7 separate regions of the Homo sapiens genome follow, and regions 1, 2, 3, 4, 5 and 7 are each linked to region 6. Evidence: promoter capture Hi-C in 16 types of primary human blood cells and fetal thymus (Javierre and others, 2016). All regions are on one chromosome and are shown on one strand. Each heading gives the region's core, a stretch centred on a gene start or on the middle of the fragment in contact. The rest is flanking DNA. Distances are from core to core; before and after follow the strand shown.

Evidence for each region. The method cuts DNA at HindIII sites, captures the fragments that hold promoters and counts their contacts. A CHiCAGO score of 5 or more calls a contact.
Region 1: a contact is called between a fragment that was not itself captured here and the fragment with the promoter of POP4 in region 6, in 7 of 17 cell types (naive CD8 T cells, naive CD4 T cells, activated CD4 T cells and 4 more). The highest score is 9.3, in naive CD8 T cells.
Region 2: a fragment that was not itself captured here is called in contact with the fragment with the promoter of POP4 in region 6 in 7 of 17 cell types (naive CD4 T cells, naive CD8 T cells, non-activated CD4 T cells and 4 more); the score reaches 10.1 in naive CD4 T cells.
Region 3: a contact is called between a fragment that was not itself captured here and the fragment with the promoter of POP4 in region 6, in 1 of 17 cell types (total CD4 T cells). The highest score is 5.6, in total CD4 T cells.
Region 4: a contact is called between a fragment that was not itself captured here and the fragment with the promoter of POP4 in region 6, in 1 of 17 cell types (total B cells). The highest score is 5.4, in total B cells.
Region 5: a contact is called between a fragment that was not itself captured here and the fragment with the promoter of POP4 in region 6, in 6 of 17 cell types (naive CD4 T cells, non-activated CD4 T cells, total B cells and 3 more). The highest score is 8.9, in naive CD4 T cells.
Region 7: a fragment that was not itself captured here is called in contact with the fragment with the promoter of POP4 in region 6 in 6 of 17 cell types (naive CD4 T cells, naive CD8 T cells, total B cells and 3 more); the score reaches 8.8 in naive CD4 T cells.

What each region holds. Positions count from the first base shown.
Region 1 is chr19:29,959,421-29,963,137 of GRCh38, forward strand. All of the region lies in intron 1 of URI1 (URI1 prefoldin like chaperone), which reads left to right. Among named protein-coding and RNA genes, the nearest start is that of URI1, 19 kb to the left of the region's middle. The HindIII fragment of the contact is 4,223 bases long and covers 212-3,717 here.
Region 2 is chr19:30,009,560-30,013,338 of GRCh38, forward strand. It overlaps URI1 (URI1 prefoldin like chaperone), which reads left to right. Exons shown (of 11, transcript NM_003796.3): 9 at 1,535-1,677; 10 at 2,726-2,972. Among named protein-coding and RNA genes, the nearest start is that of URI1, 69 kb to the left of the region's middle. The HindIII fragment of the contact is 3,913 bases long and covers 358-3,779 here.
Region 3 is chr19:29,199,695-29,203,211 of GRCh38, forward strand. No RefSeq gene overlaps it. Among named protein-coding and RNA genes, the nearest start is that of UQCRFS1, 12 kb to the right of the region's middle. The HindIII fragment of the contact is 1,654 bases long and covers 602-2,255 here.
Region 4 is chr19:29,218,585-29,222,145 of GRCh38, forward strand. No RefSeq gene overlaps it. Among named protein-coding and RNA genes, the nearest start is that of UQCRFS1-DT, 7.1 kb to the left of the region's middle. The HindIII fragment of the contact is 2,711 bases long and covers 804-3,514 here.
Region 5 is chr19:29,976,638-29,980,262 of GRCh38, forward strand. The region is part of intron 2 of URI1 (URI1 prefoldin like chaperone); the gene reads left to right. Among named protein-coding and RNA genes, the nearest start is that of URI1, 36 kb to the left of the region's middle. The HindIII fragment of the contact is 1,029 bases long and covers 1,512-2,540 here.
Region 6 is chr19:29,604,012-29,607,969 of GRCh38, forward strand. POP4 (POP4 ribonuclease P/MRP subunit) reads left to right here and starts at 2,272. Exons shown (of 7, transcript NM_006627.3): 1 at 2,272-2,314. The coding sequence starts at 2,308. RefSeq lists an enhancer at 1,925-2,414. The HindIII fragment of the contact is 1,017 bases long and covers 1,698-2,714 here.
Region 7 is chr19:30,028,151-30,031,900 of GRCh38, forward strand. No RefSeq gene overlaps it. Among named protein-coding and RNA genes, the nearest start is that of URI1, 88 kb to the left of the region's middle. RefSeq lists enhancers at 2,153-2,202, 2,268-2,767. The HindIII fragment of the contact is 670 bases long and covers 1,374-2,043 here.

The DNA.
Region 1 (3,717 bases), core at 1,073-3,572, 360 kb after region 6:
GCCTGGCTCGTACTGTTTCTAACTTAAATGTTTGGAAGAGTTCATCAACAAAGCCGTCTGGGCCCAATATTTTTCTTGGACATTTTGTATGGAGATTTTAAGATACGACCTCAATTTCTTTGAAAGTTCAAAGACTATCCAGATTTTCTGTTTCTAGTTATATCATTTTAGAAAATGTGATTTTCAAGGAATTGTCCTTTCTAAGTTTTCAAGCTTGTTGTCCCTCCGAGTTATCATAATATCCTGTTATCTTTTTATTATCAGTAGATTTGGTGGTGATGTCCTCTTTTTAATTACTGTAATTTTTAATTTGTGGGTTTTTTCCTCCCTTGATTTCTCTTCTTAAGGGTTTATCAATTTTATATTTTATATTTTTGCCTTTGATTTTTTTCCTCTTTTCTAAGTCTGCTTTCTACTTTACTGATTTCTTCTCTCTTTTTTCCTGTTTAAGATTTTCCTTTGCCTGTAATTTTTCTAGCCCTTAGAGATGATGGTTGAGGTTACTAATATTAACCTTTCCTTATTATAAGATATGCATTTTGAGCTTTAAATTTTTCTCTTAATCATTGCCTTAGGTACTGCACACATTTTGTATGTCATTTTCCTTATCAGTCATTTAAAAATAGTTTCTAATTTCTATTGTGATTTGCTCATTGACCCATAAATTGGAAATACATTCCTTTTCAAACATTATTTTCTACTTATTTTTCTGTTTCTCTAGTGTGGTCAGAGTACACATTCTGCATAATTGAAATTTAAGTCTTGCCTTTTGACCTAATGTTTTCTTTTTCTTGGTAAATTTTTCATAATTTACTTGGAAAAAAATGTTAATCCTGCAGTTTTTGGGTTCAGTATGTGTCTGTTAGTTCAGGCTGCTTGAATATGTTGTTCCAGTATTTTATGTCCTTGTTAATTTTTTTGTCTGCTAATTCTATCATTTATTGAGATATGTATTAAAATAGTCACTAGGATTATAGATTTATTTTTCTCTCTTTTTTTAACCTTTGCTTTATATATTTTACAGCTATGTTATTCATTGTATACAAATTTAAAATTGTAAAAACTTCCTGGTCAGTTGACCTTTTCACCATTCTGAGATATTTTTATCTCTAGTAATGCTACTTGCCTTCAAGTCTCCTTTGTTGGATATTAGTATTAGTATGGTCACACCAGCTAAATTTGTTTGTTTTGTCTATCTTTAAAAAAAATCTTCTTAACTTCAGTCTTTTGGGTTCGAAGTGTGTCTTATAAACAGCATATTGTTGTGGTTTTAATATTCAGTCTAGATATCTTTTCCTTTTATTTAGAGTATTTTAAGCCATTATATGTAGTAGGATTCCTGATATATTTAATTTTATCACCTTTCTATTAGACGTACATTGTATTTATTTTTTATTCAAAAAATTGTAGTAAATATAACAAAATTTACCATTTTAATAATTTTATTTTAAGAGACTGTGTCTTGCTTTGTCACCCAGGCTGGAGTGCAGTGGTATGGTCATAGCTCACTGCAACCTTGAACTCCTGAGCTCAAGTGATCCTGCCTGAGTCTCCTGAGTAGCTGGGACTACAGGTGCATGCCATTGGGCCTAGCTAATTAAAAAAAAAAATTTTTTTTTTTGTATAGACAGGGACTCACTATGTTGCCCAGGGTGGTCTCGAACTCCTGGCCTCAAGCGGTCGTCCTGCCTTGGCCTCTCAAAGTGCTGGGAAATAGGCATGAGCTACCATGACCAGCCCATTTTAATCATTTTTAAGTATACAGTTCAGTGGCATTGGGTATATTCACGTTGTTGATCAACCGTAATTACCATCCATCTCCAGGCCTTTTTTTTTTTTTTTTTTTAAATCTTGCAAAACTGAAACTCTGTTCATTAAACAATAACTCTCTATTCTTCCCCTTCCTGATCTGGCTGCCAGCATTCTATTATACTTTTTGTCTCTATGAATTTGATTACTCTAAGTACCTTTAAGTGGAATCATAGAGTATTTGTCCTTTTGTGATTGGGTTATTTCACTTACCATAATGTCTCAAGGTTCGTCCACGTTGTGGCACATATCAGAATTTCTTCCTTTTTAAGGCTGAATAATATTCCATTGTATTATAGAATGTATTATGCAGTGTATTATACGTTTTTGTTTATTTTAGCATCCATGGATACTTGGGTTGCCTCTACCTTATGGTGATTTTGAGTAATGCTGCTGTGAACATGGGTGTTTGGTTTAAGTATCTGCTTTTGATTCTTTTTTTTTTGTTTTTTTTTTTTTTTGTTGTTTGTTTTGAGATGGAGTTTCACTCTTGTTGCCCAGGCTGGAGTGCAATGGCACAATCTCGGCTCACTGCAACCTCTATCTCCTGGGTTCAAGTGATTCTCCTGCCTCAGCCTCCCAAGTAGCTGAGATTACAGGCATGCACCACCACCCCTGGCTAATTTTTTGTGTTTAGTAGAGTTGGGGTTTCACCATGTTGGTCAGGCTGGTCTCGAACTCCTGACCTCGGGTGATCCACCCACCTCGGCCTCCCAAAGTGCTGGGATTACAGGCGTGTGCCACTGCGCCCGGCTGCTTTCGATTCTTCTGGGTATGCTCAGAGGTGGAATTTCTGGATCATATGGTAATTCTGTGTTTAATTTTTAAGGAACTGCCACACTGCTTTCTCCGGTGACTGTACCATTTTACATTCCCGGACAAATTCACAAGGGTTCCAGTCCACATACTGGGCAACTTTTGGCATTTGCATTGGCTGTTTTTGTTTTCTGTAAGGACCATCCTCATTACTGGAGTGTCAAATGGTTCCCCATTATAGTTCTAATTGATGTACTTTTATGTTCTTTTTTCTCTGCTTTTTTTTTTTCCTTCCTTTGGATCAAACATTTTGTATTGTTATTTCCTCCTATTAACTTGTTTGTGATACATTATTTTTTACTACTTTTATACTGTACTTATGGTTTAGTACTAAATATAATATGTATTTATAGTATCTTTTTTTTTTTTTTTTTTTACAATTCCTTTTCACTAAGTAAGTCTCTGGTGTCTCTAGAGATCATAGCATTCATTCATTTATCCAGCCCACCTCTTGCATGATTGCTCCCATGCATTTTAATTCTACGTATTTTAAACACCACAACACTGTATTTAATTGTTCTGTGTGGTCAATATTGATTTATCTTTACCCATCTTTTTTTTTTTTTATCCTGTACCTTTACTCTTCAATTCTTTCTGCATTTATATTACTCTGAAGAGTCCTTTTTGTTGTTGTTGCTGTCTTTTTTTTAACCGATCACACTTATTTAATAACAATATCTAGTTTAATAATTTTTTTGATAAGACATTTTATTAACAACATGTCTAGTTTAATAAACCGTATTTCTTTTAATGAAAGTCTGCTGGTGCAGAATTCTGTTTCTGTTGAAAATGTTATTTTTTCCTTCATGTTGGAGGATCTATTTGCTGTGTATGTCACTATAGATTTTCAGTTATTTTTTCCAGCATTTCAAGATACTCTGTTATCTTTCACTTTCTGTCATTGATGTTGAAGTTAGCTCTAGCTCTAAGTCTTGTCACTCCTTTGAAGGCTGTGAATCTCCCCTGTGCCTCCTCCGCCTACCCCCAGCTGCACATAAAGTTTTCCCTTTTTCTTTGGTTTTCATCACTGTTAACTATGTTGTGCCTTGAAATTTTCTTTGTGCTTCTCTTGCTTGGGATTCTTGGAGTTTC
Region 2 (3,779 bases), core at 1,064-3,563, 410 kb after region 6:
ACAATGCATTGTTTGGGGTCTGGAAGGGGATCAGATTTGAGTGGCAACTACTGTAACTTCACCTGTCCTTCATTCAGAGAGTTTTCTTAAGAATCCTGGAGTTAATTATATTGTGGACATTTTGGTGTGCTTAGGATGTTGAAAGTGACTGCATTAGTTAAATTTTTAATTATGCCAGGTTGTTTTCTATGGACATAAAATGAATACTTCATAGGCACAAAGGGAAAATGTAGGAGGAAGTAAAAATTAGTTTCTTTTCTGACAAAGTAAATATAAACATCTGTGGATAATCATGACTTAGAATTTTGGCATTTTAGAGCTGGGGGTGACTGGAGATTTTCTAATACAGAGTTTTAAAGCTTTTCTCTAGTATGAAAAGCCTTTTGTTCCCTCCATACTTACTGTAGAATCCCAGTATTTAAAATAGATCAAAGCAGCTTGGCTCTGATTGAAGGAAGGATAGGCTGCCTTAAGTCCATCTTTGCCCTCTCTCTGCTCCATGTACTGCTCTAAGGGGACACTGGGAATTCGTCTAATTCGTCTTTCTCAGGGAAATTTAAGGCCTAGAAGACATAGATCTGGTTGGTAACAAAACAGGAACTCTTTCGCCTCTGAGTGCCCTTTCTACACAATATCCCGATTGCCTGTATCAGTTAAGGGTCTGTGGTATCATTCTTAAGTGTGTGTGATTATTATTTAGTGAAATATGTTTAAAACATATTTGATATTTCTTAGCTTCCTAAAGTTATTCCTGCTCCTATATGAAGTGAAATAATTGTTTGTGTTTTTATATTCTAATATGTCAGACTGAAGGGGTCTTCCCCTGATTCTTCGGGAAAAGTTGACTGAGATGATTAGCCAGAAAAAAAGGTCGCTTTTTAATCTTTTGCCAGGCTTTTACTTTTTTCCTGTTTTCATTTAGATAAAACAGAAAGAACAAATATTATTTGCAGGAACGTTACAGGTAATAGTGGTCATTATTGTGGAAAGTATGCTCTAAGTGCTGACTAGGGATAGAAAAATAACATGTTAACCCCATGTGAACCCTGAACAGGCTTGGTTTTTATTTTTTTACTCCTTCAATTTCTAAAAATTAGAGATGTTTTAAAAATTCTAAATAGGCATTATTTAATAGTACTTTTATGACTTAAAGGTTGTATTCTTACTGAATTTTTGTTTATACTCTTTCTTTTGAAATACATAATTCAAGCCAAACACTTATATCAAAGGAATGGGGTGATGGGAAGTTTATAAGAAATCTAGCATTTAGTTCAAATGTATTTTGCTTTCTCTACAATAATAAAGACACTGAAGACTAGGATTTGTTAATAAAGAAGATTTTCTTTAGATGTCATAGATCTATGAGATAAGGACTTTTTAAAAAATTCCATCTGATAATGCACATCATTTCAGCATCAGAAAATTTCAGCTGCCTCTCTTACTATTATTTTTTTAGTTATAGAGTTTATTTGTTTTGGTTTCACTTTGATTTAATTTGTCAAAAGATTCTTAATTTCTTGCTCTGAAATTTTAGGTCCGAATAAATACTGGAAAGAATACCACTTTAAAATTCAGTGAAAAGAAAGAAGAAGCCAAACGTAAACGAAAGAACAGCACTGGCAGTGGCCACTCTGCCCAGGAGCTGCCGACCATCAGGACGCCTGCAGACATTTACAGGTGGGAGGCGCTCACAGCTGCAGGGCAGTCTGCTGGGCTTGCCTCTCTTTCTGCCACTGAACCTTTACTGGAGAAAGTTGACTGTAACACAGAAGACCCTCACTGAAAAGTGAAGTGTTCTGAGGAGTTAACTTAGGATCTGATAGGCTGACCGGCTGTAGCTTCCCAGTCCAGAGCAGTGGGAATGGAGGATTTTTTTTTTTTTTCACTTTCTCCTCTTCACCAGTGCTTTTGAAACATTTCCAAATGGTCTAGTCAGAAAATCTTGTATCTTCAGAAAGCATTTTTGTTTCCAGTGGGCTAGGTCCCTACGTTTCTACCACAGCCGTAACATGCTTGGCATGCAGTTTACCTTTTCAGAGTAGAAATTATACTGTTGCAGGTTTTTTTTTTTTTTCCTTTTTTTTGGAATTGTTTGTTGAGAAAACTATCACTTGAAAATACCTACTGTTTTTATGACCCTTATTTATAAATCAGTGAAAATTGCTAAATGTATACGTGGGTCTAAAACTTTATGTAGAATTTTGGCAAACCATGCTATTGCCACCTAGGACATGCTTAAAAATAACATGCTGTGTTTTTGTTCTCACTCATAGGTGGGAATTGAACAATGAGAACACTTGGACACAGGGTGGGGAACACCACACACCGGGGTCTGTCATGGGGTGGGGGGAGGGGGGAAGGATAGCATTAGGAGATACACCTAATGTAAATGATGAGTTAATGGGTGCAGCACACCAACATGGCACATGTATACATATGTAACAAACCTGCACGTTGTGCACATGTACCCTAGAACTTAAAGTATAATAAAATAAATAAATAACATGCTGTGTTTTATTATTAGGCCAGAGAAATAGCTTTCAAAATAGTATGAAGATACCATTTGAGGCTATAAAATTATTGTGATTGTGACTATTTTAGATATAAGATTGTAATAAAAATTTTCAGATTAATTTCTAGAATAGATTCAAGGAAATTTTCAAAAAGTTGTTCTCAGTTTTATGAGTTACGTATAGTGAATGCATATGTGTTTTGAATATCACAGAGCCTTTGTTGATGTTGTGAATGGAGAATATGTCCCTCGCAAATCCATCCTGAAGTCTCGAAGTAGAGAGAATAGTGTGTGTAGCGACACTAGTGAAAGCAGTGCTGCTGAATTTGATGATAGGCGGGGAGTTTTGAGGAGTATCAGCTGCGAAGAAGCCACTTGCAGTGACACCAGTGAGAGCATTTTGGAAGAGGAACCACAAGAAAATCAAAAGAAACTTTTGCCCTTATCAGTAACACCTGAGGTGTGTGTGTGTATCTTTTAATTCTTTATTTCATATAGTATCTTTGACCAGTTTTAGCTATTTAATCTGAAAAGTCATAAGATTAAATTAATTCTAGGTTTTATACTTTCTTGGTACTAATTAATAAAAAATTAATAGTCACAAACAGTACAAATATTGTGATAATCAAATAGTTTATTTTTTGATAAACACATTACTTGTCTTAACGTTCTATTTCAGCAAAATGGGAAATTTAAAATGTCTTACTTGGCATTATGTATTACATTTGTAGCTAGGAAATTATTTCGCAGTTTATTTTAAATAAATTACCAGTAGGTCATTTTCTGATAGTGTAAGGAGCAGATTACATTATTCTCTTTTAAATACCTTGGCTAAGTTAAAGAAAAATAATGCATGCATAGCAGATAATTACCTAAAGTCTAATATTTTACCTTGTACCAGTGAAACTTAACTCTTGGGGGATTATGGAATTGTTTTATAATCTGATGAAAGCTGTAGACCCTGTCCATAGAAAAAATAGTGCACACTCAATACACTTTCACCCACCACACTTCTTACAGTTTTTGGTGGTGGTGCAGGGGAGGTTAGGAAATCCCCAAATAAGGATGTCTGTGAAATATAAGGCTATTGATTTCTTCATTCTTGTGTTTTGGTGCGTATTTGAAGTTTTCAATTTAAAAAGTATTTAGGAAGATTGGGGAACCCATGCCTGGATCAAACCAGTGTACACATTTGTATATACAATAAGATACATGCATATATATAACCTTATCTAAAAATTCCATTGCTTTTACTAAATGGTATTAT
Region 3 (3,517 bases), core at 179-2,678, 410 kb before region 6:
CCCAAAGTGCTGGGATTACAGGTGTGAGCCACCATGCCTGGCCTCTGCTATAGGTTTTAAGTGTCCTTTCATGATTAAGAAGGTCCTCTCCCCATTTAAACTACATGTACAGTTCCTAAAATTTTTCCTTAAAAATTTTTTTTACATGCATCTTTAATCCCACTAGAGTTTATTTTTAAGCATGATAGGAGCTGGGGTCCATCTCTGTTTTCTTCCAAATGAATAGTAGGCGTTGCCAGCACTGTTTATTAAATAAACCAATCTTCTCCCACTGAATTGAATCCTGTCTTTCTTGTATTAAATTCTTGTAGCTTGAAATCTCATTCTTGATAGTCTATTTTGTCCACTGACCCATCTGTCCTCATGCCAATGTCATATTAACTACAATAATTACACTGTAGTTTCTCAAATCTTTATTCTTCTGTTTCATACTTTCCTTGGATATTTTTGGATATTTATTTTATATAAGCTTTATGATCATTTTATCCTAAACAAATTGGATCAAAACAAAATGCTGTATAGAGTCTAATTGGAAGTTTATTATTAATAAATGTATGTTAATTTGAGGAAAAGACTTTTTTTTTTAAGTGAAAGCAAAGCAAGCTTATTAGAACAACAGAATACAGAAAAATGTCTGCTCCATAGACAGGGCAGGGTACCCCACAGGCAGAGTACCTGGAAAATTTTTTTTTTTTTTGAGACAGAGTCTCGCTCTGTTGCCCAGGCTGGAGTGCAGTGGCATGATCTTGGCCCATTGCAACCTCTGTCTCCTGGGTTCAAGCAATTCTCCTGCCTTAGCCTCCTGTGTAGCTGAGATTACAGCCACCCACCACCAAGCCCAGCTAATTTTTGTATTTTTAGTAGAGACAGGGTTTCACCATGTTGCCCAGGCTGGTCTCGAACCTCTGACCTCAAGTGATCTGCCCTCCTCACCTGAGGTCAGGAGTTCAAGACCAGCCTGACCAACATGGTGAAACCCCATCTCTACAAAGAATACAAAAAATTAGCCAGGCGTGGTGGTGGGTGCCTGTAATCCGAACTACTAGGGAGGCTAAGGCAGGAGAATCGCTTGAACCTGGGAGACAGAGATTGTGGTGAGCCGAGATCATGCCACTGCACTCCAGCCTGGGCGACAGAGTAAGACTGCCTCTAAATAAATAAATAAATAAATAAATAAATAAATAAATAAATAAATAAAATATACTCCTCTATTTTAATTATTTCCTATTTATATTAGGGATAGCTTTTCCACATCTATTGTTGTCTTTATTTTTCCTTCTTTGTTCATTTAATAGACAGTGTTGATACCACCTTGCATTCCTAGAATAAATCTCAAAGTTTATTATTCTTTTGCAGCATTATTAGACTTCTTTTACTAGTATTTTATTTAGAAAATTTCATTAATTCAGTAAATGATACTGATTTTTTTGATATTTAATGTCAGGTTTTAATATTAAATTTACATTAAACTCACAAAATGAATTGTTGGAGCATTCTATAGAATGCTATGGATTGAATATTTGTCGCCTCCAAAATTTATGTTGAAAGTTAATCCCCAGTGTGGCAGTATTGACAGCTGGGGCCTTAAAGAGGTGATTAGGTCCATTCACAAAGTAATGAATTAATGGGTTATCACAGAAGTAGATTAAGTGGTTTTATAAGAGGATAGACGCCAGGGCTAGCATGCTCAGCCCCCTCATCAGGTGACCAGGTGATGCCCTGTACCACCTTGGGACTCTGCTGAGAGTCCCCAGCAGCAAGAAGGCCCTCACCAAATGCAGCCCCTTCACCCTTGAACTTCTTAGCCTGCCATGGACATCACCTGGGAAAGTGTTAGAACACAGAATCTCAGGCCCTATTCCAGACCTACAGAATCGGAATATGCATCATTAACAAGATCTCCAGGTAAATTGCACGCACAGTAAAATTGGAAAAGCTCTGACCTGAACGAGCTGGTAGTTTAAATTGGAATTATCTTTTCTTTAATGTGTCATATAGAACTCAGCTATGAAGTCATTCAGTCATGGTAACTTTTTATACTTAATCTATGCTAATTGGTATGTTTAAGTTTTCTACTTCTTGGGCTAATTTTGGCATTTTATATTTTCGCTAAGAAGTCATCTGTATCCCCTGGTTTTTACAACTTTGTTACTATGGAGTTGCATGTTTTTATTATTTTAATTTCTTCCATCAAGTGAGGATGGCTGGCTCTTCATTTTATATATTTTTGCTTTGCCTCATTTTTCTCGTTATCAAGCTTTACAAAAAGCCTTATATATTTTCTTGATCATTTCAAAGAACCAGCTTTTACAGCCAATTAGTAGTAATTCTTCAAAGCTAACAGGAGGGGGACACTACAATGTGAACCACTGTCATGGATGAATTCAGCTTTGCTTTCCATTAACATCAAAACTATGTACACATGCAAATCTGAACTTCCAGGGGCCAAAGTATTATGAGAATGCAGGATTAATACCAACCTTTGATTCAGAATCGCATTCTGAGTAGGGTCTACCTCCACCTAAGTGGCCTTTCTGTATACCTAATCACATTCTAAATGCCATTTACTGCCTCGTTAAATAATGCTTTGAGCATTTGTATCTTGTTTTACAGTTGATATACCTTTTCTACCCACTATTTCATTTGAAATTTATATTTAAAATGGTATAATAGATAATCCGTTACTAAGAGGAACACTGCCTCTAACCTGATTTTCATGTACTGAGATCAACTGGGGCCCCAGGAATGCCTTGTCTCTCCAAAGGGCTGAAAGGGACCACAGCAGAGTGTGTCTTGAGGAGAGAGCTAAGAAAGCAAGTATTCCCTCAGATAAAGCAAGAGGCACGAGTTAAAATTTTAGCCATGCCCCAATGCAGGAAATGGCAGATTTCAGATACTCAATCTAGACAGGCCTATTTTGTGAAATGCATTAGCTCTCCTCTCCCTTCCATTAAGAAACCAAGGTTTTGTTTGCCCTTTTAAAAATGTATGAAAACCTATTACTTAGATACTTTGATTTCTTACCTTTGCAAATATTCTAATAAAATAAGGATTTCAAAAGCCAGATGACGGTTAAGTTTTTGCACTCAAATTGATCCAAGTTTGGGATAATAGCTGCAAAAATATAAAGTGTAGTTTATTGAATTTAGGATTTTCACTTCACTGATAGACCAGTCTTAGGTTGATCATTATGGAAGAGTTATTACAGAGATATTGCTGAAGCCCTCCACAAAGTTAACTTTAATCTTGTGCCACAGACCAGAGATTTCCGATCTATAATAATCTATTTCATAAGCACTCACAGAAGCAAGCAATTGAATAGTCTTCCTTTTGTGGTGTATTTAGGTCTTCTTTAAGTATCTGGACTAAAAACCATCTTAACTTCATGTTCCTGGCAGTACTGTGTTTGGGACATTGTTAAACTCCAATAAATAGTGCTGAGTACTGAAAAGGAGAAAATCATCCTGAATCCTTCCTCAGAAGAGAATTGATCAGTTCACCTGCTTGATAATATTTT
Region 4 (3,561 bases), core at 909-3,408, 390 kb before region 6:
ACTGCTGATGAGAGAGACAGCAGCAAACACAGCAGTCAAATGCGTGTGGCCCCCAGGACCTTATATTTTAGTGGTGGAAGCTAGACAACCACCAAACATGTAATATACCAGATGGTGGTACGTTCTATGGAGGAAAGAAAGGACGAGGGGCAGGGAGTCCTGGGCTGGTGGGACAGGGTGCTATGGCTCAGAGGGAACTCAGAGATCACCTAATTCAGGCCCTGACCTGGAGGGCTCATGCTTTGCACACTGTGCTAAGAATTTGGACTTTCTTTCTCCAAGAATAAGGACAATGAGAGCCAGCAAGCAGGGAAGTGGAGCAAGGATGGTGCCGTCCGGCTGCTCAGCTGCTGGCTGGAACTCCCGGAGGACTCTGTGAGGATGCAGGTAGAAGGTGTGTAAGCATGTGACTGCATGGAAGCCCTCGGCATGTGATCCACTCCGTGTTCCAAATTGCCATCCTTTCTGCGTGCTGTTAGGGACTTCCCCCAGCTCTCCCTGCAGAGTGAGGAGTACTCTGAGACAGACGGGTCTAGGATGAACTGTGTTGATGGAGAAATGAACATTTTTTGGAGGGAAGGAAGATTTCGGGGTGTGGGGCATAAGTTGAAGGAGTATGGCTCTGAAAGTCCTTGGGCAGTTTGTAGAGGACAGAGAAGGTGGTAATGTCAGTTTCTGCCCCTCTCCCACCTCCACCTCTGGCCTTCTCAGTGGTCCTATGGCTCCCTACCTTCAGTCATCTTGTTCTCAAGCCTGAAGTGCTGGATCCACTCAGCTGCAACCCAGCTCAACACCTCTGTGGAAGCTTTGCCCATCAATCAGGAGAAGCTGAGATCCAGAGACTGATGCCCACGTTCTGTCTTTGCAGAGGGAAGCCCACCAGAGCCCTCTTCTCTCTGGGGAGGAGCTGGCTCCCTGAATCTCCAAGACAAACCCAGACAGCCCTGGGGACCTTGAATGTGAGCAAGGGGAGCAGAAAGGAGGCTCCAGCCCACCCAGGGCCCCTGCAGGGTCTGCACACACAATTACAGGTCCTCATTTCCCTCTCCTAATGATGCCCCAAAACATTAAGGGAAGTTAAATCAAACCACCAGGTGTCCAGCATGAACAGCTGAAATAATAAATTCACGAGGTAAGTAAGACATTTTATTTGTACTATTTCAAAATTGGTAGATGCAGGAAAGCAAATTGTGATGTGCTTGGGATTTAATTTGTATTTCAAGGTACTAATGAAGGTAGCACCCATTTTCCCAAAGGCCTTTTCATCCCTGAATCTTGAGAGCACTTTTCTAAGCATATTGGGAATAAATTAAGTTGCAAAACCTCCATGAAAAAGATTACGGTTAAAACATAATTTTGAGGAACCACTTGAGTTTATCCATTTACCTGCTTTTAAGTACACACACCTATTTTTTTTGCAATTATTTTTCACAAAAGAAGGAACTTTGTGTGACGTATACAAGCAGGTAATGGCAAACCTCCAGCATCTTTAAAATAAAACTCAAATTGGGCTGGGCAGGATATTACATGCCTGTAATCCCAGAACTTTGGGAGGCCAAGGCTGGTGGATCACCTGAGGGAGCTCGAGACTAGCCTGAGCAACATGGTGAAACCTTGTCTCTACTAAAAACAAAAAAAATTAGCCAGACATGGTGGCGGGTGCCTGTAATCCCAGCTACTTGGGAGGCTGAGGCAGGAGAATCACTTGAACCCAGGAGGTGGAGGTAACAGTGAGCCAAGATCATGCCATTGCACTTCAGCCTGGGCAACAAGAGCCAAACTCTGTCTCAAAAAAATAAAATAAAATAAAAATAAAACTCAGGCTGAACTAAACCAGCCTTCTGAGTCAATGTGCAGATATTCCATAATGAAGTATGCTGATTAATAAATTATTTGATTACCAGGTAAGTATACCTGCAATCAATATAACTGCCGAAAAGCTCTGAATTAGAAATGGTGCAATAAAATTTAACTGAAAGGTATTAGGAATTGGTAGTTTTAATTACAGGGAATGATTAATTGATCATTTAGACAGTATTGATCTACAACTTATTTAATTCTTTGCAATTTAATTTGTCAGATTTGAATCCAAATAACTGATGATTTGTTCCATGAATGCCAGAGCTGGAAGGGATGGGGTTGGCAGAAGAGACAAGACTGGACCATGGACCTGGTGGTTCTGTGCAGAGGCCAAAGCTACTCTCCTTCCCACCTGGCCCTGTGCTGGGCCTAACCTGGAGCCCCCTCTATCCTCTGCCTCATTCTTCTCCGGGTCAAGGTCCAGCATGAACTCCATGTCCTCCAGGAAGCCCTGGTGGACTTGGGCAGACCTGGGGACACGTCCAGCCTCCTGGCAAGATGGGGGTAACAGGAGTGTGTATAAAGGGGAAGGCAAGAATGTGCCCTTGGTGGAGCAGTGAAAAGAAGCCCTCATGTGACAAGTGTTTTGCTCCTAACCCACCTCCTCTGGTGACATCTTCTGGGTTAACTGCTCTTGCTGATCTCTGCACATAAACCAAGCTAACTGTGAGAGGCCTTTCATTTCTAGTTTAAAGCAAGGAGACCACAGTTCCTTCTGAACACTCACCCCCAAGGAGATAAGGAGGGCGTCCCATGAGCAACACTGTGTGTTAAAGATGTACACGAGCACTGGGACCTGACCAAGGACAAACACGTCTCCAGCCCCCTCAGACCCTTGCTGCTGCTCAGATGTCCGCTGTCATCGGTCACATCCTAACCTCAACCCCCTCTCTCCTCCCACATAAAAGGAGGCTGAAATTCATAGTAACTTCAGATGGTTCTTTAGGACACTGGCCCACCACCTTCTCGGTTGCTGGCTCTCCAAAACAAAGCCCCCTCCCTTGACCCAATTCCTTGTTTCTTGACGTACTGGCTGTTGTGCAGTGCATGGTACCGGCTTGAACTCGGTTATGTTGGCATGGCCTCTGGCGGTGCTCAGTTTGTGTGGATGAGTATTTTACAGCTACTGTCCTATTTCCAGTCCCCTTCCTCTGGACGGCTATGGGATGTGCTGTGGATGCCCTCTCTTAGGCTGGAATAAACCACCCTACCTTCTCCTCTGCCTTGTCTCCACCAAATAAACTCCTTAAGGCAGGGATAGAGTCTTGCACTCCACGAAGAAGTATTGCTGCATCCTCAGCTGTGTAAGAGTGACCGGGCTTCTTCTATTCCACCTGTAATGGAACTTTAGGCACGCAGAGAGAGATGGCAAATTTGTGCTGGCTGAAGGGGTCAGCAAATGCATATAAGGCTTCTTGTGCTCCAGAGAGAGAATGGAGTGCAGTCAGTGAGACCCTGAGGGGAGAAGGAACCAAAAGCCTGGGCAGAAGGGATCGTGGAGGTGCCCAGGGTCAGGAGGGATGGGAAGGGTGAGGAACACAAGAGATCACCTGGAGGCATTAGAGGAGAAGGCAGGCACTGGGGATGGTGCCGCTGATCCAGGTGGAGCAACATCCTAGGACCCGAGTGCTGGGCAGGTGCATCCGTGGAGGGAAGCTTCTCTCCTCTCTCGGCTCCTGCTGAGAGAGGCAATCATTCCCC
Region 5 (3,625 bases), core at 776-3,275, 370 kb after region 6:
ACACACAAAAAGGAAGTCTCCGTCCTTTATGTTGACTGGTGAGAATGAAATGAAATAGTACATGTGATGCCTGGCAGTTCATCTTTATGTTAGGCATTACTTACAATCGTAAATCGTATGCATGTGAGTTGTAAAAAATTTATTGCCTTGCTTCCTTTATTTTAAAAGGATTTTTGGTAAAGGTATCTTTGAAATTACATGAAACAGACTTAAATATAGAAGAAGATACTTTGTTCAGGTGTTTAATTTTGGAAAGAATACTTTAAATTTAGACATAAAAGTTCTAAAACACTTTGGCATGTGAGTTTTGAGAGAGTCTAAAGCAAATACTCAACATTTTTTTATTTTTCAAAGGAAACTGGACAAAAATAATTGTTCAGAGGAAAAGAGTAACTAGCTTCCATTAGAATTTATAGTTAAAGTATATAGTAGGAAATAACCAAGAAAGCATACCTGTATAGCTAAAAATCTCAGGTGAAGATTTGATTTTCTCTCTCTCTTTTTTTTTTTTCCTGTTGGAGCTACTCTTTCCTATCAGTCGGGATGGAGATACCTGCTTTATGCACACATTGTATATCTGTCTATATGTCTCATGTTTTTGAGGCATTCCTTGTGCACAGAAGCACTGAACTATATCATTGTAACAATGCCATGGTTTACAGTATATTTCATATGAATACCTGAAACTGTTTTCTTGAGTTGCCTTCACATGCTATATAAAATTTATTTTATTATGTATAATATGTGAAATATTGATCTGCATACCTTTAAAACTTGTAAAAGCCAATGACTTTTTTCTACAGTGTTAGGTAGATTTGTAAACTGTGTTTTTCAGAGTCTGTATTTTACTGACTACAAAGTTTTCAGTCACTGTTTTGTAGAGGGCCTTCTGTTTGGGCTTTTTCTTTATGTTATTTTTTCTTTTTTTTTTTTTTTTTCCCTCCTCTTGAGCAGAGAGCAACTGCCAAACTTTCTGGAAATTTTGCATGTTTTTGTTGTTGGAGTTTCTGTAGTTGTTTATGAAAGTCTTAGGGATAAGGGGGAAGAATCATATATGTCAAATCTTGTCATTAAGTTTCTGCACAGTTTTAAAAAATGGTGTGAGTTAGTACATGCGCTAGTGATTAAGTGAGTTTGGAACTCGTGTGTAATGTTTCAAAGCAAATTAAGAGGCAAAAAAAAAGATTCAAGTTGAATGTTTAAAGAATTTTTTTTAAATCTGAGTTAGGTTTTTAAATGTTTATTCTGAATATAAAATGAATGCATGCTTAGTTATGGAAAAGTTGAAATAAGAAAGGAATAAAGATAAATTTACTCATAATTGTAAAGAGAAGCTAATTCTCTCCCTGTTTTTAAAACATTCCCTTTTATTCCCTCTAGCTTCTTAATTCTGTATGTGTATTTATGTGACTAAGGTCAAACTGTAAATGCATTTTTCTTTTCCTTCTCTTTTTAAAGAGTTAAATGATTTTTAACTTGTAATTAGAATTTATTACTTGTAGGAGTCCTCAAGCTTTTATATCATGTTTTTGGAAGCAACCAGCTAGTTTAACGCACTTCTGAAAATGAAAGGAAAACTTACATGTTATAGGAGAGTTTTTTTCCCCTGAAGAGTTTTAAACTATTATTAAAAAAAATCCCTAATCACATTTCATCACCTAGAATAGTCCTTGATGACGACGTGTTTCCAGTGTCAATATGGTTTGGTTCAGTTTCCCATGACCAGCTCAAGTCCAGTATCTGACTGAGGCAAAGGGCTTAGGGCTTACTGCTTTGGGCACACCTCATGATTTTTTATCTTTGTCTCAACTGTATTAGGTTTGAAAACTGTACTTCTTTGTACTTTTTTTTCATTTTCCATTTTTTTTTATGAAGAGTAACATCCAATAAAACTCTTAAGCACAGAGTCCTGTTTGAGGATGAAGATGTGAATATTGCAACAACCACAGTGCTTGTCTGAGAAGTGCATCACTTGGTGATAATCCTGAGTGCTTGTTCTTATTTTGAGAAATATAAGTCCAGATTCCACTATACCAAAGACAGATTGGGGTGGGTATCAGTGTAAGACCTGAGAGAAATGTAGGCTGTGAAAAATGGAGGCATGCCTATAATTTACTTTTTACTAATTCATATTGAACTCATGATCAAATTGGTGAGGGTTTTCACATTTTTCTTTTATTTTTAAGTCAGTTGATAATTTTGAGGTTTTTAAATATTTGGTAGGTTCAAAACCAGGATTGCCATTTTTCACTGTTGTAAAACCTCTTGAGAAACTTTAACCCGGAGGTATCTATGATTGGGCCTCTGCTGAAACTATATGTAAAATATGAGTTCTTTTCTCAGGGAAGAGCCTAGAGTTTTTCTAGTTTCTCATAGGGATCAGTGACCTAAAAGGGTTTTTTAATTGCTACTGTAATTAAGAAAACCCACAAAATTACTTTTTTCTAAAATATGCTTTAGAAAGAAAATATAGAAAGTGTAAAGTAGCAAAACCTATGAATTACGGTAAGATTTAAGTAGAAATTTGCACAAACTTTCAAAGCTTAAGTCAGCTATAAACTCATCACACCTTTTCTAAAAGGTCCTTTCCTTTGATTTGTAATAGGAATTTATATTAGTTATAGAAAATTTGGAAAATAAAAAGAACAAAAATTACATATAAACTCATCAGTAAAAATTAACTAGGCACTTTAGGATATTTCTTTCAAACGTAGATGAATGTGTTTTTACATAATTTTAAAGGTTTTTTGCTTTGAATTCACATCTCATTTTCTTAGAGCAAAAGATTAGTAATGAGTGAAGAAACAGGCACCTGTGATAACTGACAAGTCTTCAAACACATGTGTATGGTTGTTGTAGAGAGAACAGTAGAACAGATTTTTCTGTCCAGGCTTACTATATATATATATCCATTGCACTGTTTTCTCATTGTTGAAAAGTTAAATTGAAGAAATCTAGTAGAATGTTAGCTGCATCTCTCTTTAGATAATTTTGTTTCATTGACTTGAAAAATTATGTTTTTATATGCGGGTTAATCTTGGTATCTATGTCTAATAGTAAAGTTTTCTGATGGACTCATAAAATATAAAGAACATAGATTATTTCATCAGCATCTTCTGATGACATAAATTCCTTGGTATAATAGAGTTATAAAAAAGGAATATACCACCATTCTGCCTGAATTTTGTGGTACATTTCAGTTACTTATATCAATTGAAATTACTGAATATTTTGCCATGACCATTTAGAAAAAAAGTGTAATGCTATTGATTTAATTCAAGTACATTTAAATTTTCCATGAGGAGTGTTCCTTTTCCCACCAAATTGCATAAAGCATAACAGTATAGATCCCTTTTTCAAGAATTTTTAAATAAAATGTAACTTTTATCAATTTGTTTAGATTGTTTAAAAGGATACTTTGAAAAAAATCATTATTTCTTGCTTTAGTAACTGGAGGACATCTCTTTATCTATATAGAATCCATGCCCAAACTTAATATTCCTCTATTTTCTTGATTTTAGAGGTGAAAAGCCAGGCATCCTTCAAGCTAGTGGATCTTTGACAAAGATGCATTGCAAAACAATCAACAAACAATCAGAAAGGCATGCTATGTGTGAGTGATGAT
Region 6 (3,958 bases), core at 1,022-3,521:
TGTTTGTTTGCTTTTTAAAAAATATTTTAGGCTGGGCGCAGTGGCTCACCCCTGTAATCTCAGCACTTTGGGAGGCCGAGGCGGGTGGATCATGAGATCAGGAGTTCGAGACCAACCTGACCAACATGGTAAAACCCTGTCTCTACTAAAAATACAAAAATTAGCTGGGCGTGGTGGTGTGTGCCTGTAATCTCAGCTACTCAGGAGGCTGAGGCAGGAGAATCACTTCAACCTAGGAGGCAGAGGTTGCAGTGAGCCGAGATCACACCATTGCACTCCAGCCTGGACAACACAGCAAGACTCCGTCTCAAAAAAAAAAATATTTTAATGATGAAGGAACTATGTTGTAATTGCAACTCAAGGACGACCCACCCCACCACCATCAGGGAATTCGAGGGGAGACTGGCAGTTATCCAGGGATCCCAGAAGGAGTCAACTGGGAGTTAAGAGTCCTAACAACCCTAGAAAAAAACTTTCAAAGACACAGGTCTTCTCATTAATCTCCATAATCACAGAGGTCTTGCCTAAAAGGGCCCCCCTTGAGTACACAGCTCTGAAACTGGCTAACATCTTCTGCTGTCTCATTTGATTTTAAAGTTCACATTTGTGAAGGGCTCTATTGTACAACATGGTGACTATAGTTAATAACAGTGAATTTCAGTTAATAACCTGAATTTCACTGAGAGTAGGTCTGAAGTGTTCTCATCACAAAATGAGTGTATTAGCATCGCTCATAGCTCATTTAGCCATTACACAATGTATACACATTTCAAACCATATTGTATACCATAAATACATACAATTCTTATTGGTTAATTTTAAAAATAATAAAAGTTCTCTATCAGTCCCATAAATTACAATTTTCAGGCATCTGCAAAGGCAGCATGTTTTGGTTTAAATGTGGTCTTTCCAAATTTTATACGTATAAAATAAATGCATAAGTGTACTACATATGCAAAAACTAATACATAAATTTTATAAAGTCAATGCACGCGGGGTCACTGGGATGAACCAATTTCAGTGCCTGCAGTCTAATGTTTAAAATCAAAATGGTACAAGGTCACCACCAAAGAAATTGTTTAAGCCAATGTTTCTCAAACTAAAACCTTTGGACATACTCCCAGAATCCCCTGTAAAGAAATGTATACTGTACTCAAAGTTGAGAACCACTGACTTAGCATAAAGGGACCGTATTTCTTTTCTCTCCCACCCAGCACAGGCCCAGTGCTCAGCAGAAATTGGGGCTCCACAGTTCTGCCCAACACTGGGTCACTGCTGAGAAGTCTGCACCAGGCCTTCCTGCACCTTTCCACTGAGCAATGGAGTTTGTTTATTCATTTATTTATTTATATGGAATTTATTTATTTATTTTGGAGACAGGGTCTCACTCTGTCACCCAGGCTGGAGTGCAGTAGCGCAATCCAGGTTCACTGCAGCCCTAAACTCCTTGGGCTCAACTGATCCTCCCACCTCAGATACCCGAGTAGTTGGGACTACAAGCACGCACCACCACGCCTGGATAATTTTTTTTAAATGTTTTGTAGAGATGGGGTCTCCCGATGTTGCCCAGGCTGGTCTCGAACTCCTGGGCTCAAGAGATCCTCCCGCCTGCGCCTCCCACGGTGTGAGCCACCTTTGATCTTATTGCTATGATTTTTTTATTGATAAAAACTAATAAATATTCTGAGTCTCAAGAAAGCTTTCTGAAACTATCAAAGGGACCCAGGCGGCGCATCACTACCTGTGAGGCCGACCCCACTCACAGCACAGACTGCAAGTGAGGCTTACAGATGGGAAGTGCCCTAAGCGAGGTTAAACAGCTAGTTAGCAGCAGACACGGAACTAGAACCTAAGCCTGCTGTCCCAGCTTCGGTGCCCGTGCTCACAGCGGAAGCTGCCTCGGCTCATCCGTAAGGGCGCTGATTAGGGACGACAAAGACCTCACCCCACCGTCCCCGTCCCATTTCCGCCCTCCCAGATCCCCAACCTCCTTCGAGTCCTCTCCAAGTCGCCTCGCCTCGCTCCACTCCAGGCCTTAGCAAGCATTCCACATGCCTTTACCCCAACCCTACTGCCTGTCCCCCAAAAGATGCAGGCGGAAAAGACCCCAGGAAGCGAGCCCACTCCTCCCCACTGCTCAGCAACACCGCCTACGACGTTCTCAGTAGCCGAATCCCTTTCCAGGCGCATGCGCCCCCGAGGTGGGCGAGCGCCGGTGATGTCACGCATAGCGCCATCTCCGAGCTCCGAGAGTCTGCGACAGCAGCTGCCAGTGCGTCATCAGAGAGCGCCGGAAGCGGTCCGAGAATGAAGAGTAAGCGGGGCCGCGAAGTTGGAGAGGGTTGGGGACGTTAAGGGTCGGGGTCTTGGTACTGGTGGGTGAAATGGGTCCGGGCTACCTGTTGCTGCGGAGTCCTAACAGAACCGCTACAGGAATGGGCCCACCCTACCTAAGAAAAACTGAGGGCTGGAGCACGGGTTAGCCTGGCTCGACCTCTGAGCTAGGGAGGGATGTCAGGGCTGGAGGCAGGTTCTCCCGGAGGCTGCTCAGTGGTGTGCGATGCTAGAGGAGGGTTCCAGGCCTTGGCTCAACTTGGCCACTATCTCCCGGGGTGACCGCGGTCAAGATCCTGCTCCTTTCTGCGAGCTGGTTTCACACTCTTAACCTGATGCAAAGCGCCGAGAGCTGCTGGGGAATGATATCACTAACCCAAAGCTTTGGTCCTTAGGGGTAGAAGACATGTGCCAAGGAGGGGCGTGTAGACACCGTTAAGACTGGGCCTTCAATCAGAATTTTTATTTTTCATCTCTGCCACTTTCTACCTATATGATCAAGTAGATTGTCTCGGCATGTCTGAGCTTCAGTTTGCTCATGCACATAAGTGTAATGAGAAAAAATATGTGTACCTTGTAATGAGGTTTCTGGCAAGTAATGGATGTTCAGTAATTGTTAGATGTGTATTGTTGCAGAAAGACTTCCAAGTCTGTTACTAAGCACCTGTAACAGATGAAGCAAAGTTATCAGGCCCCGCAAGTTGCTCTCTACAGTTTATAATCCCCATCTTCCATTTGAGGGAGAACTAGATGCTATATATAAAACTTGCAACCACATTGGTTTGCTTGATCAAACAAACATACCTGGCTGGGTGTGGTGGGACACGCCTGTGGTCCCAGCACTTTGGGAGGCTGAGGCAGGGGGATCACTTGAGGCCAAGAGTTGAAGACCAACTTGGGCAACAACATAGCGAGACCCTGTCTCTACAAAAACTGGAAAAAAAAAAAAAGAATTAGCCAGGTGTGGTGGCACACACCTGTAGTCTCAGCTACTCAGGAGACTGAGGTGGGAGGATCACTTGAAACCAGGAGGTCGAAGTTGCAGTGAGCTATGATTGTGCCACTGCACTCCAGCCAGGGCAACAGAGCAAAACCCAGTATCAAAACAAACAAACAAACAACAAAAAAAAAAAACTTGTAACCACCTTGCATCAAACATTCTCAGGGAAGTACAAGAAAGCTGGAATTAAATTTACAGAGTATAGTGTAAATTACATTTTCTAGCTATTTAGCTCATAAACCAGGCCTTAGTAGTCCCATTCTTATTCCATTCACACCTGTACTCTGTCCCCAGTGCCATGGTTTTCTTCTTTCAAAAAATTAAGAAACAGAAGTGTGGAATTTATTTTAGAGGTTGAAACTTTATTGACCAATGTATATTTTGAGTTTAAAGGAAAAACTTGTATTTTATCAGTTCAGGACACCATCGATTATGTGACACATTATAATTTCATATTAAAATGTGAAGAATCTTTTTAAACATCTTACAGTTAACAAAACCTATTTCTAACCATCTACATCCTAGACAGCTATATCATATAACTTTTAATGAGTTACCTTGTTAGCAAGTGCTCAAGCTTCTAACTTGGGGTATTTTAAACCAATGCAACTCAAAATGTGATTC
Region 7 (3,750 bases), core at 459-2,958, 420 kb after region 6:
GCATTTGTATCTTGTGGGCAGCATGTGGTTGAATTTTGTTTTTAAAAAGTCTATTTTGCCAGCCTGTCTTTTTATTGAAATGTGTGTTAATTCATGTAATTGTTGATATGGCTCATTTACATATCAATAGCTCATGCCATTTTGTTAGTCATTTTTTATATGTCATGTCTTTTTTGTTCCTCTGTTCCTCCTTGGTTACCTTTTTTTGTGTATGTTAAATAAATCTTTTAGTATAAACTTTGAATTCCTTTACAAAAAGAAACTGTACTTTTTTTTTTTTTAAACCCACAAATTTATTTCTTACATTTGTGGAAACTGGGAAGTCAAGGTTAGCAGCTGATTTGGTTCCTGCCGAGGGCTCTCTTCCTGGGCTGCAGATGGCCTCCTGTGTCCTCACATAGTAGAAGAGAGCTTTACTCTTTTTTATGAGTTATTTTATAGTGGTTGCTCTAGAGTTTATAGGATGCATTGTAACATTATAACCTGCGTCAGAATAATACTAACTTAATTCTGGCAGACTTTGCTTCAGCATAGCTCTAGTCTCTTTTTCCTTTGTCCTATTATTGTAATATATTTTATAACAGTACAGGTTTATTATTTATAACTATATGGGTTCATTATTTTTCCATGCAATTATCTTTTAAGTAAGAGAAGAAAACTTAAAAAGAGTATTTTTTCTATTTTTTACATTTGCCTACATAATTACTTTTACTGGTACTTTAATTTTTTATGTGGATTCAAGTTACCATCTGGTGGTGTTTCCTTTCAGCCTGAAGTACTTGCTTTAGCATATCTTGTAAAAAAAATTTTGGTGGCAACAAATTCTCTTTGTCTATCTGGGAAGATCTTTATTTTTGTCCTCTTTTTTGAAGGATAGTTTTACTGGATTTAGAATTCTTGTTTGACAGTAGAGTATGTTATACCACTTAATTCTGGCCTTCATTGTTTCTTTTGAGAAGTCAGCTGCTAATTTTACTGGGGTTCCCCTGTGCATGATAAGTCCATTTTTCTCTTGCTGCTTTCAAGATTTTGATGTGTATCGGTGTGGATATTTTAATGTTTATTCTACTTGGATTTTATTGAGATACTTGGATATACAGATTTATACTTCTTACTAAATTTGGAATGTTTTCAGACATTAAAAACTTCTATGACTCTTCAAAAGATGTCAAAACTTGTATGGCCCTCACTATTCTTTTCTTCTGGGATTCCCATTATGCATATGTTGGTATTGATTGTAACCCACAGATTTCCTACTTGGTTCATTTTTCATTCTCACTTCTGTTCTTCAGATTGTGTAATTTGTATTGATTTATCTTTGAGTTCACTGATTCTTCCTTCTGCATTCAAGTTTGCTGTTGTCCCTCTAATGAAGCTTTCACTTTAGTTACTTTTCAACTCCAGAATTTCCATTTTTTAAAAAATGTTGATCTCTTTATTAAGTGTTCTCTGATTAGTCATTGTTTTCATGCTTTGATTAAACACGGTTTTCTTTTGTTCTTTGAAGATGTATTTTTATTGGCTGCTTTGAAGTCTGTCTGTTAAGTCCAACATTTGGGAACCCTTGGAAATAGCTTCTGTTTATACTGAGTATTTTTTTTTTTATACTAGATAAGCCATACTTTCCTGTTTAAAACTGGACATTTTAAATAATACATTGTAACAGCATTTATTTCTGATACTCTCCTGCCAGGGGTTATTGTCCCTTTTTTTGTTTGTTTTATGACTTGGCCAAGATTAATAATGAGTTTTTCTCTACAGCGTGTGGCCTCTGATGTCTCTCCTCAGTTATGTTTGACTACTTATGGGTCACCTTGGATCAATATATCTTAGTGATCAGCTGGTGACTGGTCAGAGATTGTACTTAGGCATCTTGTTTTGGTAAGACTTTCATCCTTTGTCAAAGTCTCTGTTTTGTTTGAGGAACACACTGAAAATTTATGCAGTTTACGAGTCTTCCCTGGGGGTATGTATATAGTTAGAGCCTTCTCTGGTCTCTCAGCATGTTCATACCCTAATATGCCCATTACCTTTCAAAATGTAAGCTTATCAAGGACTATGATTGTCTCACTTCCTGATTGTTTCTGTTAAATCTCCAGGCAGAAAATTTTTTTCTTCTGATCTCTTTTTTGGCCCAGCTATAGTATTTCAGCTTCAGGTCATCTATGATGTATGTGGACCTCTCCTATGTTTGGCACTGAAATTGCTATATTTAACAAAGCCCCTGGGCGTTGGGTTTTTCCACGTTGTTTCAGATTGAGTCAGCTCCCTACAGTATAAATGCTTCTGGTTTTACAAGCTGTCCCACCCTGTTAGAACTATTGTCTGAAGGAGCTGGGGTGAGGGAGAGTGGTCACAATGCCACATACTGTCATCATTTTTACCCAACTTTCAGTAGTTTTCTTGAATAAACACTTCTCCATTTGTCCTATGTTTTGGTCAATACTCAGAGGTGAAAAGTAGTTGTTTTTGATAATTTTGTCTAATTTTTTTAAAAGTCTGTTTTTTAAGAGCAATTTTAGATTCACAGCAGTACTGAGCAGAAGGTACAGAGATTTTCCATATATCCCATGCTCCCACACCTGCATAGCCTCCCCTATCATCAACATCCCCACCAGAGTGATACATTTGTTACAATAGTTGAATATCCATTGCCACAGTAGTTGAATATCCATTGCCACATCATCACCCGAAGTTGATAGTTTGTATTAGAATTCACTCTTGGTGGACATTCAGTTGCTTTGGATAAATATATAAGAACACATATCCACCATTATAGTTGCTGAGTAGTCTCACTGCCCTAAAAATCCTCTGTGCTGTGCCTATTCATCCGTCCCTATGCCCCAATACCTGGTAATCACTGATTTTTAAAATTGTCTCCATAGTTTTGCTTTCTCTGGGATGTCATGTAGTCGGAATCACATAATGTTTAGCTTTTTAAGATTGGCTTCGTTCTCCTTTGAGTTTCCATAATGTCTTTTCATGGTTTGATAGATCTGAAAATAATATTCCATTGTCGGGATGTACCGCAGTTCATCCATTCACCTACTGAAGGACATCTTGGTTGCTTTCAAGTTTTGGCAAGTACAAGTAAAACTGCTATAAACATCAGTGTGTGGCTTTTTGTGTGGACATACGTTTTCAGCTTCTTTGGGTAAATACCAAGTGGTATGATTGACAGATCATATGGTAAGACTATGTTTTGTAAGAAACTGCCAAACCGTCTTCCAATCTAGCTGTACTATTTTGCATTCCCACCAGCAATGAATGAAAGTTCCTGTTGCTCCACATTCTAGCCAATATTTGGTGGTGTCACTGTTCTGGATTTTGGCTATTCTAATAGGTGTGTAGTGGTAACTCATTGTCATTTTAATTAGCATTTACCTGATAAAACATGATATGGATCATCTTTTCAGATGCTTATTTGCCATCTGTGTGTCTTCTGGTGAGGTGTCTGTTAAGGACTTTGGCCCCTTTTTTAGTCAGGTTGTTTTCTTATTGTGTTCAATTTAATACTTATTTGTGTATTTCAGATAACAATCCTTTGTCAGAAATGCCTTTTGCAAATATTTTCTCCCAGTCTGTGGTTTGTCTTTATATTCTCTTGACAGTGTCTTTCACACAGCAGAAATTTTAATGAAGTCCAGCTTATCAGTTTATTCTTTCATGAATCATGCCTTTGCTGTCATATCTAAAAGGCCATTGCTAAATCCAAAGTCATCTAGATTTTTCTCCTATATTCTAGAGTTT